Regions from separate parts of the Homo sapiens genome. Here all the other regions are linked to region 2. The links are contacts of gene promoters, found by promoter capture Hi-C in human tissues and cell types (Jung and others, 2019). All regions are on one chromosome and are shown on one strand. The core of a region is centred on a gene start or on the middle of the fragment in contact, and the rest is flanking DNA. Distances in the headings are between cores, read along the strand shown.

Evidence for each region. Contacts are between HindIII fragments. The study calls those that stand out against the background at their distance.
Region 1: a fragment that was not itself captured here is called in contact with the fragment with the promoter of ABCA12 in region 2 in 1 of the 25 tissues and cell types used here (lymphoblastoid cells).
Region 3: a fragment that was not itself captured here is called in contact with the fragment with the promoter of ABCA12 in region 2 in 1 of the 25 tissues and cell types used here (H1 embryonic stem cells).
Region 4: a contact is called between a fragment that was not itself captured here and the fragment with the promoter of ABCA12 in region 2, in 1 of the 25 tissues and cell types used here (lymphoblastoid cells).

The regions. Positions count from the first base shown.
Region 1 is chr2:213,221,425-213,225,924 of GRCh38, reverse strand. No RefSeq gene overlaps it. Among named protein-coding and RNA genes, the nearest start is that of LINC01953, 56 kb to the right of the region's middle. The HindIII fragment of the contact is 4,523 bases long and covers 93-4,500 here.
Region 2 is chr2:215,135,677-215,140,209 of GRCh38, reverse strand. ABCA12 (ATP binding cassette subfamily A member 12) reads left to right here and starts at 1,584. Exons shown (of 53, transcript NM_173076.3): 1 at 1,584-2,070. The coding sequence starts at 2,002. The HindIII fragment of the contact is 12,690 bases long and covers 1-4,533 here.
Region 3 is chr2:213,787,465-213,791,962 of GRCh38, reverse strand. All of the region lies in intron 10 of SPAG16 (sperm associated antigen 16), which reads right to left. Among named protein-coding and RNA genes, the nearest start is that of MIR4438, 32 kb to the right of the region's middle. The HindIII fragment of the contact is 5,751 bases long and covers 1-4,430 here.
Region 4 is chr2:213,252,315-213,256,609 of GRCh38, reverse strand. No RefSeq gene overlaps it. Among named protein-coding and RNA genes, the nearest start is that of SPAG16-DT, 30 kb to the left of the region's middle. The HindIII fragment of the contact is 4,005 bases long and covers 449-4,295 here.

The DNA of each region.
Region 1 (4,500 bases), core at 1,105-3,604, 1.9 Mb after region 2:
AATTTTGACAAATACAGAGAGGAGCATACCCTGATAGTTCCATTACTTATCTTAGATAGTTTTTAAGTGAGAACATTAAAAGAAGGGTTATTTATAAGGTTAAAGTTGGAAGAGATTTTGGAATTCATCTAATTCGACACCCGCTTTTACCTTTTAGAAAATGATGCTTTGGTATGTTAAATGATCTGCTTACAGTTAAAGCAGCTAGTTTATATATTATTTTTTCCATAGTAATACTTTCAGTAAGTTATCAACAGTGAAAAATATACTCCTTTTTAAATGTATTTATATTAACTTCATGATTATTTAACATCTTTTTCCCCAATTTAATATGTAGTAAACTTAAAATACACCCTTTTATCACTTTGTATTTTTAGTTAAGAAGGTTATAGTTATTTCAATTAATGTGTAGAAAACTAGATATTGTTATGTAAAAACTTCTACTTTAATTAGGCAACACATATTTTGGAAGACACATGTGATAGCCACGTACACAAAAATTTCATAGTATTTCTGATCAAAAAAAATTCTAAAACGTCAAATATAAAAAAATTGACCAGAAATTATAATGACAAGAACATGAAATGTCTTAATTAGTGACACTAATTAAGTGTCAAAATAATAAAAATAGTATACAAGTTATAAAAGTAATCTCAGAGAAATATACATTCAGTGGAGAAACATACAGCGACATTTTCTCTGTTTTCTTTCTCCCTCCTCAGAGATTTAACGGGTTGCTTCTCTCATCCTAGTAACACTGGATTTGATAAGTATATAGCAGTTACCTATGGTTGTTTATTTCATTATTTTGCCATAAATGTTATTTACTGACACATGTTATAAAACTATTCTGGTTTTAAACATAAGCATTATTTAAAAAATAGTGGAGCATTATGAAGAAAAAGTTTTCAAAATTTACAATTTGATGATAAAAATCTGCATGAATAGGTCAAACTGGATATGCAGGAAGTCTGAGAAAATTAAAAATTGTGGAAAAACTCAGAAGTTTCAAATGTGATTTAGCTTTAATTATAACCAAACTCATATCCTTTCATACATCTGATCTTCATATTAAAAATAAAATTCAAAGGTAATGTGGAAACTGAATTTCATTGAACATTATATACTTCATTTATGAGAATACAAGTTTGCAGACAAGGGCTTGTGGGGTGGTGTGACAATGATATAATGGAGAAGTAATGATCTCAACACAAAGGAGCGCATTTCTTTTCAGCTTTTATTCTCTGTGTGTGTGTGTGTCTGTGTGTGTGTGTGTGTTTTGTAATAGTAGTCAACCTCTCTACCAAGCTTCTCCTCCTTGTAGGTCACATGATATGTAGGATTCACCTCCTCCTCCTGTTCCACTAAAGGCTTATCCTTTGTAAGTAAGAGACTGGTAGCTGACTAAAGCGACTCACCTACATTTAAGACCTATGATTACAAAATTGGGAAGGGTTATGTTTCAAAAAGTGAATAGTTTACTTTTTCAAATACAGGATTAACACATTTAGTGTTCTGGTCACAACAAGCAACCTGGCTTCACAGCCATCCTCAGAAAAGTCGGGAGTTCCACTGAGAATAATATTTCCAAACTAGAAGTGCTTGAGCTCTAGGGCCTAAATTGTAACTTAAAAAAGTGCTAATAAATTGAGGAAAGTCACTTATCCTCCCTGTTCTACAGCATTCTTATCTATGAAAATGACATGATGCTAATTGTTGCACAGTCTTAATTGATCATTTGTATTAGTTTTATGTGTCTATTCATACCTCAATTTCATCTGAAAATAAATTTGGGACAGCTTCTAAAATAAAAGGAAAAAGATTAGGTTAAAAAGTTAAGTAGGAAGATCAGAACAAAAGGAAATATAAGGAGAGAAACAAAAAAATCAAGTCAAGGAAAGGATTGGTAGACAGTTTGCATGACTTTACATTTGAATATTAGCTTCTCCATAGCCAATGACTCTCATCTTAGTGTAAATTGATGTCCTCATTGTCAGAGATAAGCTGTTGATAGTGAGAAAGAGTAGAGAAAGCATAAAAACCCCAACTGCCTCAGGCACATAGGATAAATGTACATTTTTAAATTATATTACAGTTTTGCCTACACTAGAGCACACCCGAAAATAAATAAGATAATTTCTAAAATTTAAAGTGGGTCAGTATTGTTTGGCTCTGGCTATGTAACCAAACTGCTATATAATCTTTGGGAGGCCGAGGCAGGCAGATCACGAGGTCAGGAGATTGAGATCATCCTGGCTAACACGATGAAACCCCGTCTCCACTAAAAATACAAAAAAAAAAAAAAAAAAAAAAAAAAAAAAATTAGCCGGACGTGGTGGTGGGCGTCTGTAGTCCTAGCTACTCGGGAGGCTGAGGCAGGAGAATGGCGTGAACCTGGGAGGCGGAGCTTGCAGTGAGCTGAGATGGCAATACCGCACTCCAGCCTAGGCGACAGAGAGAGACTGTCTCAAAAATAAAATAGAATAAAAAATAAAATGAAAACATCATAATTCCGGAAGTTGAAAGATCTTTTAATTGATGCTGACATAGGAAACAATCCTATAAAATATTTGCTTTTCTGATACTATCATCACTAAAACATGTAAAATCGTCATGGGTAACTGACCCTTGCAAATATTTTCTTTCATTTTTTGCCACTCTCCAATTTTTGTCTTCCTCAACTCCAAATTATGGAAGCAGTTTTCGAGGTCTTACAGATGCATTTCCTTCCAATCCAAAATAAGCCTTAATGATGTTAATGTCAGAAATTAGTTCCATAGCAACTATTATAGGAGCTTTCACATGCACACACATTTCTAGAGAAATGATGTTTGTAATTCACAATAGTACAAAGAAACTTAAACTAAACTTATCTTTTGCCTCTGGTACAAGAAATAGGAGTACTTCAAAGATCTCGAGGAAGTTTCTTAAGAGCTCTCCCTAGGTCAAATAAGTTGTATTATTTTGCTCCCAAGCTCATGTTATTTTAAAGCAAGATCCAGAGCCTGGAAGTGACACTAACTCTTCTATCAAAGTGATTTAAATGATCATACTTTCCGAAGATTAAAAAACTAGAATAATTTTGCCACTGTATTTTACAATTTCCTTTCTCACATATAAAATAATTTTATTATTCTAAGAAAACCTGCTGAGTTAATATGGGAGACATTTCCACTACAAGTACTAAAAAATCAGTCACCCTTACAGTTCATAGAAAGAAAATCAAATTCTATTTTAGTGAAGTTTTCATAACAGCCTTTTGGTAATAATGTTGAAGAATCATGATATATTTAAGAGATATTAATTCTAGTAATAGTCATTTATCTTTGATGTCAGAGAGAGACAAAGGCTTGGGAAATAGAAGATTTACGATGACATATTATAGACTTACTTGGTAGATGTTGGATTTTTTACTCTTCCTCTGAAACGACAGATAATGAAGCTTTATCAACTTCCTTTTATTAAGGCTAAAAATATATCCTATAATAGGATCATAAACATTTGATGAAAATCACAGCTGTACTGAATTTTAAAATTAGGTGAGGATGGGCAAGTAGTTCATAGAAAAGTAAATCAGCATAACTCTCATACACTATGAGTTTACAACCCAGCTTGTTTTAATTTAATATATCTCTGGCTCTGACCTCTTTCCTGTAGTCCAGATATATATTGCCAATTTCCTGAATGAATCTGGATGTCCAAAATGAGTTGATTTTCCTCCCAAGCACATCTGAGACATGTCAGTGGAGAAAGCTCAAATTTAAGAAGATAGAACAGGATGACTGATCTTCCCTTTATTCTTCCCATTGCTTTCTGGGAAGAAGATTAAAATTCTTATTGTTATATCTCTGCCTTAAGTTGTATTCCCCAGAAACAGACTCTCGGAAGATGACTCATGTGAACACGATTAATAGAAAATTTTCCCAGGAAAATCAGGGGCATGGGGTGTGTAGCAAGGAAATAGGACTAGTAAGGTAAGAAGGCTAAGGAGGGGTATATTATAAAGCAAAGTTTCATGGAGGGTAACTTTGTCTCTGTCCCATAGAGGATATCTCTAAACAGTGTGGATCACACCTCAGACTTATCCTGATCAAGCCACAATGGCTGAAATATTTAAACCCCTGAACCTATCAGTGATTGGATAAGAACTACTCCTGGAAGGATATAAGTCCCCAAATACTTCTACCACAGTGGAAAAAAGTAGATTCCGGCAGTCAGGGGCCATCCCTGCAATAAAAAGACACAGTGCTGTCAATGTGAGAATAAAAACACACGTGGAGACAGAGAGCCTGGGAATGTAAAAAATTCAAGCAAGCTATGGCAGTGCACTGACTGTCTGCTTTAATCTACATACTGGTCACAATGTAATCTTATTTTCCTAATACCTACCCCTTTATCACTTTCCATTTATTTACTCATTATTTTCTTCTCCTTTATTCCTTCTATGTGCATCCTGCAGGTGGGGTGAGGTCCTGGGACATCAATGTCTAGCAGTAGAGT
Region 2 (4,533 bases), core at 335-2,834:
TTATAGACCTGCCTAGAGAAACAGGGAAAATCCCTGATGTTCATTTGTTTCTCAGCTCTTCCTGTGAAGTGTAATACATGGGACTGGAGAAAACATAGCACAGAGATTAACAGTACAGAAACGAGGTTCGAGTTCCTTCTCTGCTGTTCCCACTGTCCTCACTGCTAACTAGGTGAAATCCAGCAAGTTATGGCACTTCTAAATATCACTTTCTTTCACTGAAAATGGGAATAATGACAGTTTCTATATAATAGGACTCCTAGGATGATTCAATAAGTCCTTAGCAAACATTGCTACCCAATTAATAGAATTAATTGACTACTTACTATGAGGCAGGACCTGTGCTAGATTCCTTTTTTTGGAGGGGGGATGGAATCTCACTCTTTTGCCCAGGCTGGAGTGCAGTGGCGCCATCTCAGCTCACTGCAACCTCTGCCTCCCGGTTTCAAGCGATTCTCCCTCCTCAGCCTCCCAAATAGCTGGGATTACAGGTGCCCACCACCATGCCTGGCTAATTTTTGTGTTTTTAGTAGAGACGGGGTTTCACCATGTTTGCGAGGCTGGTCTTGAACTCCTGACCTCAAGTGATCAGCCCGTCTCGGCCTCCCAAATTGCTGGGATTACAGGCATGAGCCACCGCACCTGGCGAAGGGAGAACTCTTAATGCTTTAACGGATTTTGCAAGTAAAGTCTGGATTAGTCAGGGTAGGTGTGAGGATCAAAGGGGAGCTTCACCCTACTAGCCTTGGCTCCAGTAGTTTATTCAATTACATTCAGCAGCAAGTATTGAACACTAATGATATGTAAAGTACTGTGATATAAAATAGTCCATGTCCTCAAATAATTTATAATCTTGTAGGAAAAATAAGACATACACAAATAAAAATAATGCAAAAACTTTAAGTTCCTTGAGAGAGGGCAACAAAGAATGATTCAAAGGCAAGAGAATCTATCCTATGGGATATATCCAAAAAGGCTTCATTGAAGATGTCAACTTGGGGATAACTTTGAAAGGCAGGATCTTAGAGAGGGAGGAATGTATCATGGAAAGAGGAAATAGAAATGTCTTGGATCAGCCTGTGTCCCCTTTCACTATAAGAGCCTGAAACAATGTGGCTTGTCTGTAATAGACACGTGAATCTCCACTCACGAATTGAGGGACTCCAGTTTGTAATTTATGTCCCCTACAGCCTACCTTTCCTTTTCTGCCCTGTGCTTAACCTAGTACATTGTGATGAAAGGTGGGACCTGGCCAACATAGTTTCTTCCCCCAAAATCGAAACATTCAACTTTAGGTTAAAGGTGGACACTTTCCCTAGTATATCTAATGATGGGCTGAGGCTCAGAGCTTTGCAGCTAAGCTCTGGCCTTATTGACTTAAATCATTTTAATGACACTTTAATATTAAAGAGTCACTGGGCCCAGTGTCTGTGAAATGCTCTCTGTGCCCTGCCTCTGCTAGAGCAGACACTGTGTGCAGGAAAGAAGACAAGAGAATGTAGGACAAGTCCTACTGGCCTTGCAAAGGTCCCACCCCCTAGTCCCTGTGACGCATCCAGTGCAGGTGACATGTTCTCTAAGGTGTGGATAGGCAATTAATTTCATGGAGAGTAGGAGGTGTGGGTTCAGCTGCTGCTTTTTTTTTTTTTTCAGTGAGGCATTATCTGAATGATGCTCATTCTCTCTTGAGTCTGGACTTCGTGCAACAAGCAGCAACTGGATATTATTTTAAAATAAGCATAAGCCACCCAAAGATACTGATCTGGGTCCTTCTTTTGGAAGAAGAGTTGATTGAGAAGTGCCTCTTGGTTAAGGATTAACCACAGGGAAAAATCCAGCAGAAACAGAAGAACTGTGGGTTTCTTACCCCAGCCCTCAAGGAAGCTATGCCGTGAAAGGGGTACTGATACACTGACATACAGCAAGTTGGACGGGGCATCAGTTCTTCATTTGTGGAGTGGAGAAAAGAAGAGGAAATCTCTCATTTGGGGCATTTGAAGGATGGCTTCCCTGTTTCATCAGCTTCAGATCCTGGTCTGGAAAAATTGGCTAGGTGTAAAAAGGCAGCCGGTGAGTTAAAAAAAAGTGTGGGAGTATGGGTCATGGGGCAATACGCCAGGTAATCCTAAAATGTGATCTTAATGAGAAGTGAAAACAGAAGAGTTTAAAGGCATTTTCCAAAGCAGGAAGTAAGATATTTAGAATTCATCCCCCTATCTGTCTTATAGCTAATGGAGCGAGTCTTAACATGCCCCCAAAAGCAGCCTTTTCATTTCAGTAAATTAAAGAGTAAACCAGGACATGCCCTGGGCAAAAAAAAAAGAACATGACTCATTACTGGCTGAACTGGAACGTTGAATTCTGGTTTCAAGCCAAAAGGCTTTCAGAATTTTTCTTAATGTAGTTAAAAATGGGATAGAGGAAAGAAAAGTATTATTTGAAATGTACAATAAATGGGAAGAAATATACTGGAAAACTGAAAGCCATAGAAAGTTTGGTTGAAAGGTAAAATACAGAACAGAAATAGTTTGAAGGCTATTAGTATAGAAAAGCTACTGAGAAATTTTAGTATCTAAAAATCATTTACTGGGAATACCAAACAAGAGTATGTATATGTGCTATGTTTTAAGAATATTATTGAATCACTTAGCTTTACTACTACAATCTATCTTCTCTTGCTCATTGCAACGTCTTTTTTGTACTCTTACATTAATGTTTGCGTTCTAATTACAAAGTTAGCTATTAGATCCTCATCAGATGGCTCCCAGGATGATTGAGAAAGGAATTGGTTTCTGGGAGTTGTTATATATTCAGAAGAATGTTTGAAAATCGGGGAAATCCAAAAAGGTATTCAATATACTTTATTTTAAAGTGGTAATTCCCAGCCTTGAATGAGTAATGTAAATATTATGCAAATAATATGCATCACACAGAAACCAGCACTTTATCTATGCACCTTATCTCGCTCCAGGCTTGCTTGGATTGCCTGACACTTTACTTGAGTGTTTTGATGTGTGTAGTAAGAGGAGGAAGTAGATGTTCATTTACCCTTGTGAATTTTGTGGGTAGGGTTTTAAAATTCTAAGGCATGTGATTGCATGGGTGTGGGGTTTGAATATAAAATTATAAACTCATTCATGTTTTTATTTGTTTTTTAACTGGAAAAAAAAAAGCACAGAAGAAAACCTCCCCATAATTATCATGTGGTTGATTCTGTGTGGCATAAGCAGGGAAAGGATCCTGGGTGTGTGGATGTGGTCATGTGGTCAGAGCATGCGAGTTGGGGCCCCTGCCACTGCTCCTCATGTAACTTAAGTAGCTTAAGACAGTTTCTCTAAGCACTGTTTTTCCCACCATGATGTGGCATGATGAGTTAGACGTGACATGATTAGTTAGATGTGGCATGAAGCCTGCCACATCTAACTCATTGGGGGAAGTACCAAATGTGCTAATGTATTTCAAAGTGCTTTATAATACTGACACACTTAGCAAATAGATTAGTGAGGGATTTGAGGCAATGTGTGTCATATTTTATGCAGATTAATAATGAAAGGAAATTCAGGAGAAGATACTGTGGGTAAAAGGAAGAAATCCACGTACAGTCAAGTTTGTAAGTGATAAAAATTCAATAGCTAAAAACAAAAACACAGAGGAACTAAAATCTGTACGTGTTATTGTCAATAATCTGAATGCTGAGGTCTGTTTCTTTTACAACTCTATTTTGTGTAAAAAAAGTTATAGGAAAAAAAAACACCCAAATCTCAGGTGAAGATGTTTGTTTTTCATTGAGAAATTTTATCTTTAGAAATTTTAATGACAAATTTTTTTCCTCATTTTGAAAGTAGTAGGTATATCAATTTTCTCCTTTGGGGTTTCTCTTCATTTTAGTCAGTGTTTGTGGACATGGTGAAATATTTAGGGGAGATGTAAGTCAGATATTAAAAGTTTTTCAAGCATGACACCTTGCATTATTCCCATCTAGTCAAAACCCCTAAATAAACTCTGGTAACTATACTTTTCCTAGGGAGGGAGAATACATGAGCCATTAGTTCATTTTGGGACAGGGAATGATTCAGATCTTAAGTGCACCTTAAACAAATGGAAACCAGAACAGATAAGTCTTCACGGCAGAGTGAGGTCAGAGAAAGTCCAAAATTTGGGACAATACAGAGGCCAACCTGAATCCATTATAACCAACCAGAGGGACAAGAGAGACCTGTAGAAGATGGTGATGCAAAAGGAAAAGGAAGGACAATTCTGAGTGGAGGGGGAAAGGGCAAAGAAAGAGAAATTTCCTTCACAGTTTCGCCTAGGGTCAGCTCTGTCTCTCCATGTTGGGAAAAAGACTTGAAGACACGTGTGGGAAGGATATATGTGCGATGGCATTACACTTAAAAAGGAAGAGAGGAATAAGAGGTTGGAAAGTTGGAATTAAAGATCTAAAGGGGGATAAAATGAAAAAAATTGTCTAAAGAGAAATTATAGGCAAATTAGAAGACAGACAAAATGTGAAATGAAGGTACATATGAATTT
Region 3 (4,498 bases), core at 306-2,805, 1.3 Mb after region 2:
AAATACTCAGTCTTTAATATGTTAATGAATGCTTTAACTTCAATACAGGATGACATAATATGTACAAAATATTTAAAACATTTATTCATGAACACCTTTTTCCATTAAGTACCTTGTAGGACTTACTTTCCACAGAATAAACTTTGCAAAACGTGACTTAAAACATTTTTATACTCACTCCTAATCCTTTCCATTAAATGATAAGGGCCTGTCTTAACCATGCTTGACTTATATTTTGGAAGAATATATTTTAGAAAACCCATATGGATATTATAAATACTTTTTTATTTGAAGTATTTAACGTAGATTTCAGAATGAATATTTTTCATGTTTAGGATTAGAATGCACACATTTCTTCTCCCATTCAAGTTTCAGATTTATGCAACTCTGACCACTGCTGAGAGAACACTAGTCTAATCCCTTTTACATGGTTTAATGCTCTTATTTTGTGTATCCTTTAAGCTGTTGTCAAATAGTCTTCCGTAAATATTATGATTATCTAGTCAGGAGTTGAATCTGATGTACCATTTTATTCCTTAAAACTATTTTCTTTGTATAAAAAAAGAAGTTATACTAAAGATAAGTGACATTATTTGCTTTCCACTTTTACCAAAAATGCCTCATGATTCAAAAATAAGGGGTATATGCAAAGGATTTATGTTTTTTTTTTCAAACTTTAGTTTTCTTTAATGAGGAATTTATTTTTTCACTGCAAGGTTAAAAACAAACCCACACACACATTCCAGGTTTGGATTTGTAAAGAAGCCTTGACTGTAAGGATTTCTATATTAGTTTTGCTCTAAAAGAAATTTGGCAATCAAAATGAAGGCTTGTTTAATATTTTAACACTTATTACTATGTCCACACCACTGAAAACTCATTGCTAAATTAACCACAATTGGAGACCATTTCAAATTGCTTCTAAAAAAAATCAGTGATAATTAAACCACCAGGGATTTCTCAGTGGATACTTATGTGCTATTTTCATCTAAAATAGTATTTCTAATTTAGCTGAGTAGAGAATAGATTAAAGCAAAATACTCAGGCAGCAGCTGGATGATGAGTTAAAGTGAGACAACAAAGGTCAGAACAGGCAGAAGAAAGTTATTTCAGACATCTTGATGTGCATCTTCAACTGATGTGACATAATCAGAATTGGCCCATGACAAAATCATTATACAGGCAAAGATTACCTCTTACATCTTAAGCTACCTTCATTATTCTACCTCTATGCATATACACACATGCACACACTTAGACCATACACATAGATGCTTGAGGATGCATATGTACATATATACACAATACTGGTATGCTCACATTGTATATAATTGGTGTTTTTCACCCACAAAATAAAACAGACCAAAACAAATATTATAATAACTGTTAGAAGACTAATATTAATATTTTAAATATATTAATGAAAATATAAGTACAGAAGAGGTAGAAATTAACAAAAAAAAGAAAAATAATCCATTAAACCTTCATGAAAGATATAATATTACACCAAAAATATGCTTTTGGTTATAACGGTCTGAGTTATGGAGAACATTGAAGCTAGTGACGGCAGTTCTTTACAAAGAAAATGTTCAGAGAATGATAAATGATCCACTGGACTTGAACCTAAATAAGTGTTGAGAGTTGAGAGTTGGAGATGAGGAGTTAAAAGTTTATAGAAGTGAAATTATAGAGCTGAAAAGATAATTTTGGAAACTATCGTGGAGAGTCTTGAATGCCAAAAAATTGCATCTTATTTTATAGGCAGTGATGAATCATCAGTGATGCTTAATAATAAAATTCATGATTAATTTATGAGAATAATTTTGGCCATAGAACAAAGGTACTCCACTGGGGAAAGAACAAGGGAGTGGATGATGTTGTGGAATTAGAAGGTAACTAAAATAGCAATAATCAAGTTGAATAATACTGAGGGGACAAAAAAGATGAGAGATCATTTTTGAAGGGCAGATTTTAATTAATATAAGTGGTTAAGAAAGATCTAGAAAAGTGAAGAATAAAAATAATACCACAGTTTTGACTCAAAATACATTGGATGATAATGATATCGTTACCGAAAATTGGAGAAATTAGGGATTTACAAATTATTTTTAACTTCCCTGCTTTAAAAAGAATTTGAGGCAAAAATAGGTGAGTATATTTTGGGTTTGAAAGTGAATAAGTAGATACATTCAATTTTAGTTGAAAAATCAATCTATTTGGAAATTCTAGCATCATAGAGCTTACGGACAAAGTATAATGGAGATACAAGAAAACCAGGGAGGGTTCCTTTGCAACAAAAATAACCATTACATCGTGTGAGTGAATAAGGTTATCACTGAGCCGAACTGTCAAATGTTGAATGTTGTGCTGGAATGGTTTGTCTTTTTAAGCTGCTTTTCAAATAAAAGATAACACATAAATTGGTCTTCAAACAATGTCTCCAACAAAATAATCACCTTGTGTGTATTTTTCAGGAAAGATGCCACACATACTCTCAGATAAATCTGAACATAAAGGCAATGATCATTCTCAGCATTGCAATATTACTTTTTAAATGAGCATAACTATTAGTCATTCTTATTGGAATAAGATATTGGAAAATCTCAATGATAAAGCACATAAATGACTGAAGTCAAATTTATTAAAATGCTGATAAAACATCAAGACCCACACTAACTGTCAAAAATGGTGTTCATCTTACTAAGTTGTTAACCCAAAGTGAAATACTATAGCCTACAGAAAGGATGGTTTTACTTCCAACTTCAAAGTAATTAAATAAATGAGTACACTTATTGAAAGGATTTTTAATCTATTTTTCAATTCCATACATGCATTTTTAAGTGCTTCAGTACAATTATGGTGATTAAAATGGTTCTTCCAAATTATTTGCATTCAATTGCTTATCTTTAAGTATACTGACATTCTTCTTTCAGTGACAGAGAAAACAGGAAAAACGTTCAGACTCCTGTTTTTCATCTATCTTTATAAAGCAAATGATGCTATAAAAACAGAGAGAAGGAATTATACTACTTAGAATTAATATAAATGGAAAGATTCTACCTATGGAAATTGCACAATAATTTGAGAATCACTCATAAAGACGTCACACAAGTATATCATCAATGTCACATCCATAAAACAAGCAAACAAAAACAAATATAAGAGCTGAGAGATGGGTTTAGATGTTGTCTTATTCCTTTCAGCATTTATTAATAATTGAGTATATTCTAGGCAATATTTGAAGCAAGTTTTGAACAGAGGGATTAAGTCAGCCTATACCAAAGGTCCCAGTGATGTAGTCTATTCTAAGGCCTTCCTGTGAAATTTAGCATATCAGGCTCCTCTAGGGGAAGAATTTATGAGTCTCCTAAAAGGAAAAACACTGTGGATATTGGCTATGAGATATAGAATTTATGTAAATAATTTTCTTAGTGTTTCTAATTAAATAAATAACAAAGAATCTTGCACAGAAAGAAAAGGAAGTAGAGATAAACACTACCACAAAAACAATAACAACCCCTAAAATTCCATCATCACAGGGTTACCATTACCAATAGCTTAGCATAAGTTTTCATAATGTTTATATTTATATACATATGTATATATGACTTACTCATATGAGATTTGTATAAATGTGATTGTGTAGCTTATTTCCTTTTTATAGGTTATTATGACCATTTACTTCTATAAATACTTATATTGACTATATAAAATTCAGCTGCTTAATGTATTATAATTTATTTAACTCTTAATTTTTAGTTGCTATGATAAACAACATTACAATAGCACATTTGTACTTAAATTTTTGGATTGGAATCCAATAAATTTCTTAGAATGAGTGATCGAAACTGCTGAGTCAAACCTAAATCTTTCATAAAGGTTAAATTATTCTGTGTGAATATAATGATGATTCAATCCAATAGTGCCTAAGAGTGCCAATTGTCCTATCAACAACACCAGCTCTTATGATTCTTTCTTATTATTTGCACATATATGTTAGTCTTTCTCAAGTAGTGACATGCTCTTCTAGGATTTTTGGACATCTTCAAATATATAGTTTTCACGATAAATTTTTGTGATAGTATCCAGATTTTTAATTCCTAGAAGTTGTATTCCTATGTAAAAGAGTATGTGATTTTAAAATTTTATTTCATAGTATAATATTGCCATCCAAAAATTGTTGTATCAACTGCCACTCCTAAAAACAATGTATAAATTTCTATTCCTTTTCCACCTATCATGAGGTTACTGTAAAAATTTTAAGATGTTTTCCAATTTAATAATAAAACAAATCTGAATTGTTCATATAATTTAAAAATCATTTAATTATATTTTATCCTATAATGTAATTTGATACTTATAACCCACAATGCTTTCCCACTGCCCATAAAATAAAGGGCACATGACTTACATGGCTATCCAAAATCTACAGCCTTCCTATCTCCAAGCTCACCTCACCAAATTTCTCTTGAATTTGGTATTGTAGCTATATTATATT
Region 4 (4,295 bases), core at 1,202-3,701, 1.9 Mb after region 2:
GTTTGCCCATCAAAAAGTGGGTGCTCTTAATGCAGTGGGAATGTACCCTGTGTGTCATAAGGGCTACAAAATACTGTTTTTCTATGTAAGTTTTTGACGGGGGGGTTTATTAACTTTAAGGTAGAAAATAAAACTTCTTTGTTGACTAATGCTAGGAAATTTTCCCTCCCATTTTTTAGAAAATAAGAACCCATAATTCCCTGCTTGTTTCCTGTAACCCAATATAAATATCCTGCCTAGGTATTCTCTTATCCTCTATCTCCCCCATTGTTTCCCCCGTAGCAGCAGCTATGGTTAAACGTGTTTGCTTTAAATCATTAGTGTTAATGTTTCAGGGTTCCTCATTTACACGTCACTTCCATGGCCCTAGATGATACCTAGGAATGTATTTGTACTGAAATAAAGGTTTGAAAATTTTGCAAAAAATATGATGTTTTACTGTCAATTAAGATGTCTCTGTCCATTCTAATGTCCTCTCATGACAGTTCTATCTTGTATAATGGGATATTAAGGTGGTCACCAGCATTTTTGGTGTCCTATGCCCACTCCATTCCCTTGGTGACTTACCCAGGATTGTGCCAGCAATGTGAAAAGGTACAGGTTGAATTTCTATATGAATATGTCCTATGGTGCTGAGAACCAAAAGAATGTGTGGAGTGGAAGATGAAAATGGTTTGAAATGTGTGGACCCAGAAGCTAGCCCATAGAAAATTCTTCCAAATATCAAGCCTGTAAAACTGTGAGCAAAGAATTTTATTTTCATAGTTGACAAGTGAAAACAGAAATATTCTCCTGTTATGAATAAACTCGATAATGCAACATTTACTATTATAAACACTATAATAGGTAACTATAAATCACCTATTCCCTCTGTTTTGAAAATATTAAAAATTCATCACATACACAAAAAAGTTATTTTAAAAAATCATATAAATGTTTTTTAAACATACAAAATAACATTTTTATTGAAAAAATAGGCAGCTGAAAATGTAGGCCATAGGTGTGTTATAAACAGCTGAATTTTAAAAAATTGTATTTTTTCTGAATTTCGTGATAGTTGTGTTTGTCAGCTTTTCAAAATTTGTTATTTATTGTAATTTCTTTTTTATCATTCAAAATAATTATTAAATTTTATGCTCAGTTTTATTATCATAATTTTTTCTTTTTGTCTGACAGTACCCAGAATGATACAAATTTGAAGTCCTACAAAACTGGATTCTCAAGTAAAGAATAGAAATAATACTGGAGCAGTGAAATTACAGATAAAAATCCTATGCAGTATTTCTTAATGGGAGGTGGGTGATTTTGCCCTCCAGGAGACATTGGACAATGTCTGGAGACGTGTTTGGTTGGCCGGATTGGAGAAAGTACTACTGGCCTCTAGGAGGCAGAGGTCAGAGATGTTGCTAAAATACGCAAGACAGTCCTGCACGACCAAGAATCATCTGATCTAAAGTGTCAATAGCTCCAAGATTGAGAACCCTTGGTCTGTGTACTGAGAACGCCAGACAGAAGATATCAGTGCTGATACAGGATATAACCATTCTGACATGAACTGGAATAAATAAAAAAATTAGATGTAGATTATCCCTAATTGCAGGAGCAGATGATTGAGAACAGGTATGATGGCAGGAGACAACGAAACCAGAATTAGCAAATCTATTTTCCTAACATTTCTGCCTGAAATTTTGACTAATATCCCAGTAAGAGAAGACTGATAGGTAACATTGAATTTACACTGGCATCATGCTGCTCTGTAATATGCTGTTGCTACATCTTTGTCTTTCTAAGTCCACTTGGAAACAGGAGCTAATAATCCTTTATAGAGGTATTACAAAGATTTCAAAAGTCCCCAGTACTCGTTCCTTATAGAGTTCATTATACTGTGTTAAAACTGGGATGGGCCGGGCGTGGTGGCTCAGGCCTGTAATCCCAACACTTTGGGAGGCAGAGGCAGGCGGATCACGAGGTCAGGAGATCGAGACCATCCTGGACAAATGGTGAAACCCTGTCTCTACTAAAATGTACAAAATTAGCGGGGCATGGTGGCATGTGCTTGTAGTCCCAGCTACTTGGGAGGCTGAGGTAGGGGAATCACTTGAACCCAGGAGGCGGAGGTTGCAGTGAGCCAAGATCGTGCCACTGCACTCTAGCCTGGTGACACAGCAAGACTCCATCTCAAAATAAAAAAGCAAAAAACAAACAAACAAACAAAAAACAAAAAAAATACTGGGATGGTATGAGAGGCATTAGTTGAAGTGCCTCCTTCCCATCTCATACTTCCACACAAGTATGTTACCCTAGAAGGCTAACAATCAATGTCTGAAGGAGAGAAACTATGTAGAAGAGTGCCTATGGCGGAAGGTGTTTGCTTTGTTTTGCTTTGCTTTGCTTTTCACCTTCCTCTTAGATCAGGTAAGAGCTTCCAAGAGGAGTGGAAGAAGAGAACCTACGGAGTCAACATTGACAGAATGTCACCCTGGTATGGGAAGACTTGGGTCTTGTTCTCCTTTAGGTCAAGTGGGTGATGGAGCAAGGAAGGTAGAGAGAAAAGTAGTAGACCGCTACATAAGAGTGCTGATCCAAGACGAAAAAAGAATGGCCCACTGCACATCTGGAACTCCTAGAAGCAGTTGCCTCGCATGTGATCCTAGTGCCAGAGTGCAATGGAGCTGGAGAATAGAGATGGCAGCATGAGATGCAGGTCACAGTTGGGTAACCTGAGGCAACCCCAGAACTTTCTACAGCCTCATGATTTAAAATCCAATTCAGACAGAAGGGAGCAAGATGAAACCCTGAACTTAACTGAGTTTAAACCTCAAATGCTTGAGAGAAACTTCAGAAATAACTAAAATCACCTGAATGTAAATAAATCACATTTTCAAGTTTATAGATTGTAAAAATCACACACTACACATGTATGGTTTCTGTACTTCTCAGCTAATCTTTTGTATTGTCTTGCTGAAGTCTCAAATTAAAAAATAAATGTGACCCAGCAACAAGAATCTTCAGGTATTTTTCAAAGCAAGGCACAAGTAGAACAGAATAATATTTTTAGGAAACGTCTTGGTCCCTAGAGAAGGTGGAAGAGAGAATCAATGCCCTGCTTAAAAGACAAGCTGACTGAGTAGTCCCTGGCAGATTAAACTTTGAAGAGCAAATTGTCAGGCTTATATAGCCAGCTGTCCTATTTAAAGCTTTAACAAATAATTTGCTGAACGACATACTAGCCTGTATATGGCAGCATACCAGGAACAGGACACAAAGAGGTATAAGAATGTTGCTCCACTCCAAGGTACACACACGAACCTCTCCTATTTGAATTACAGTATAAAGCGCCTAAAACACCTACAGAGATAATATTCCTTGTCTTACATGGATTCTAATGAAAACAAAGAGGTCAAAGCCTTGAACTTGATAGACTTGAACCAATTTGAAATAGAAAGTAGAGATAATTTTATCTCAATAGCTCTAATAATAAGGCTGAGGCATTCAGCACCAGCTGCAAGCTATTTTGCCGCTAATACCAACCATAAATACAAAGAATAGCAATACCTATAGAATAGTAGAGTTGACTGATGCCAGGCACCTAGACAAAATGCAATGTCGGAACTCTTTTAATCTTCCTGTAAACATGTTCCACCTTTGTTTATACCATTTCAGTTTAAATACAAAATTTTCAAATCACTTATTTAAATTTGGCTTTTTCTTGGCTCTAGTAGTGGATTAAATATAATGTATAGAGGAATCATAGAGTGTACCCTTTATGCCCAAATTACTTGGACTAAAAATGTCTTTGTAACAGATAAAAGACACTCCTAGTATGTTGAAGAAAATCACAAACATGTACACAAGATCAAATATAATAATTATCTTTCACTTTTTTGAGTTAAAGGAAAGCACAATAGCAAATAAAACAAAAACAGATAATCACCCTAGAATTGCTTCCAAATAATTCCTCTATCAATGCATTATTTCACACCATTAATCAACTATGAAAATCCTTGAAAGGCAGACTAGATCCCCAAGATTGAAGCAAAATGAAAATCCTAGAATTGCAAACCCTATTTTTTTGATTGGAACAAAAACAAAAATTGCAAAAGAAGATTGACATGCCTAATTGCTCCCGTGAAAGGAACAATAGCAAGTAGTTTTAGAGAAATGCTTAGAAATCCATTTGTGCCTGTCAATAATATCCACCTTTTCAAGCTGCTAATCCATTAGTCACTAATGGCTGACTTGGTATTAAGCTGGACAATACAAACAGCCCATTCATTGCAGGGAAAAGTAAAGAA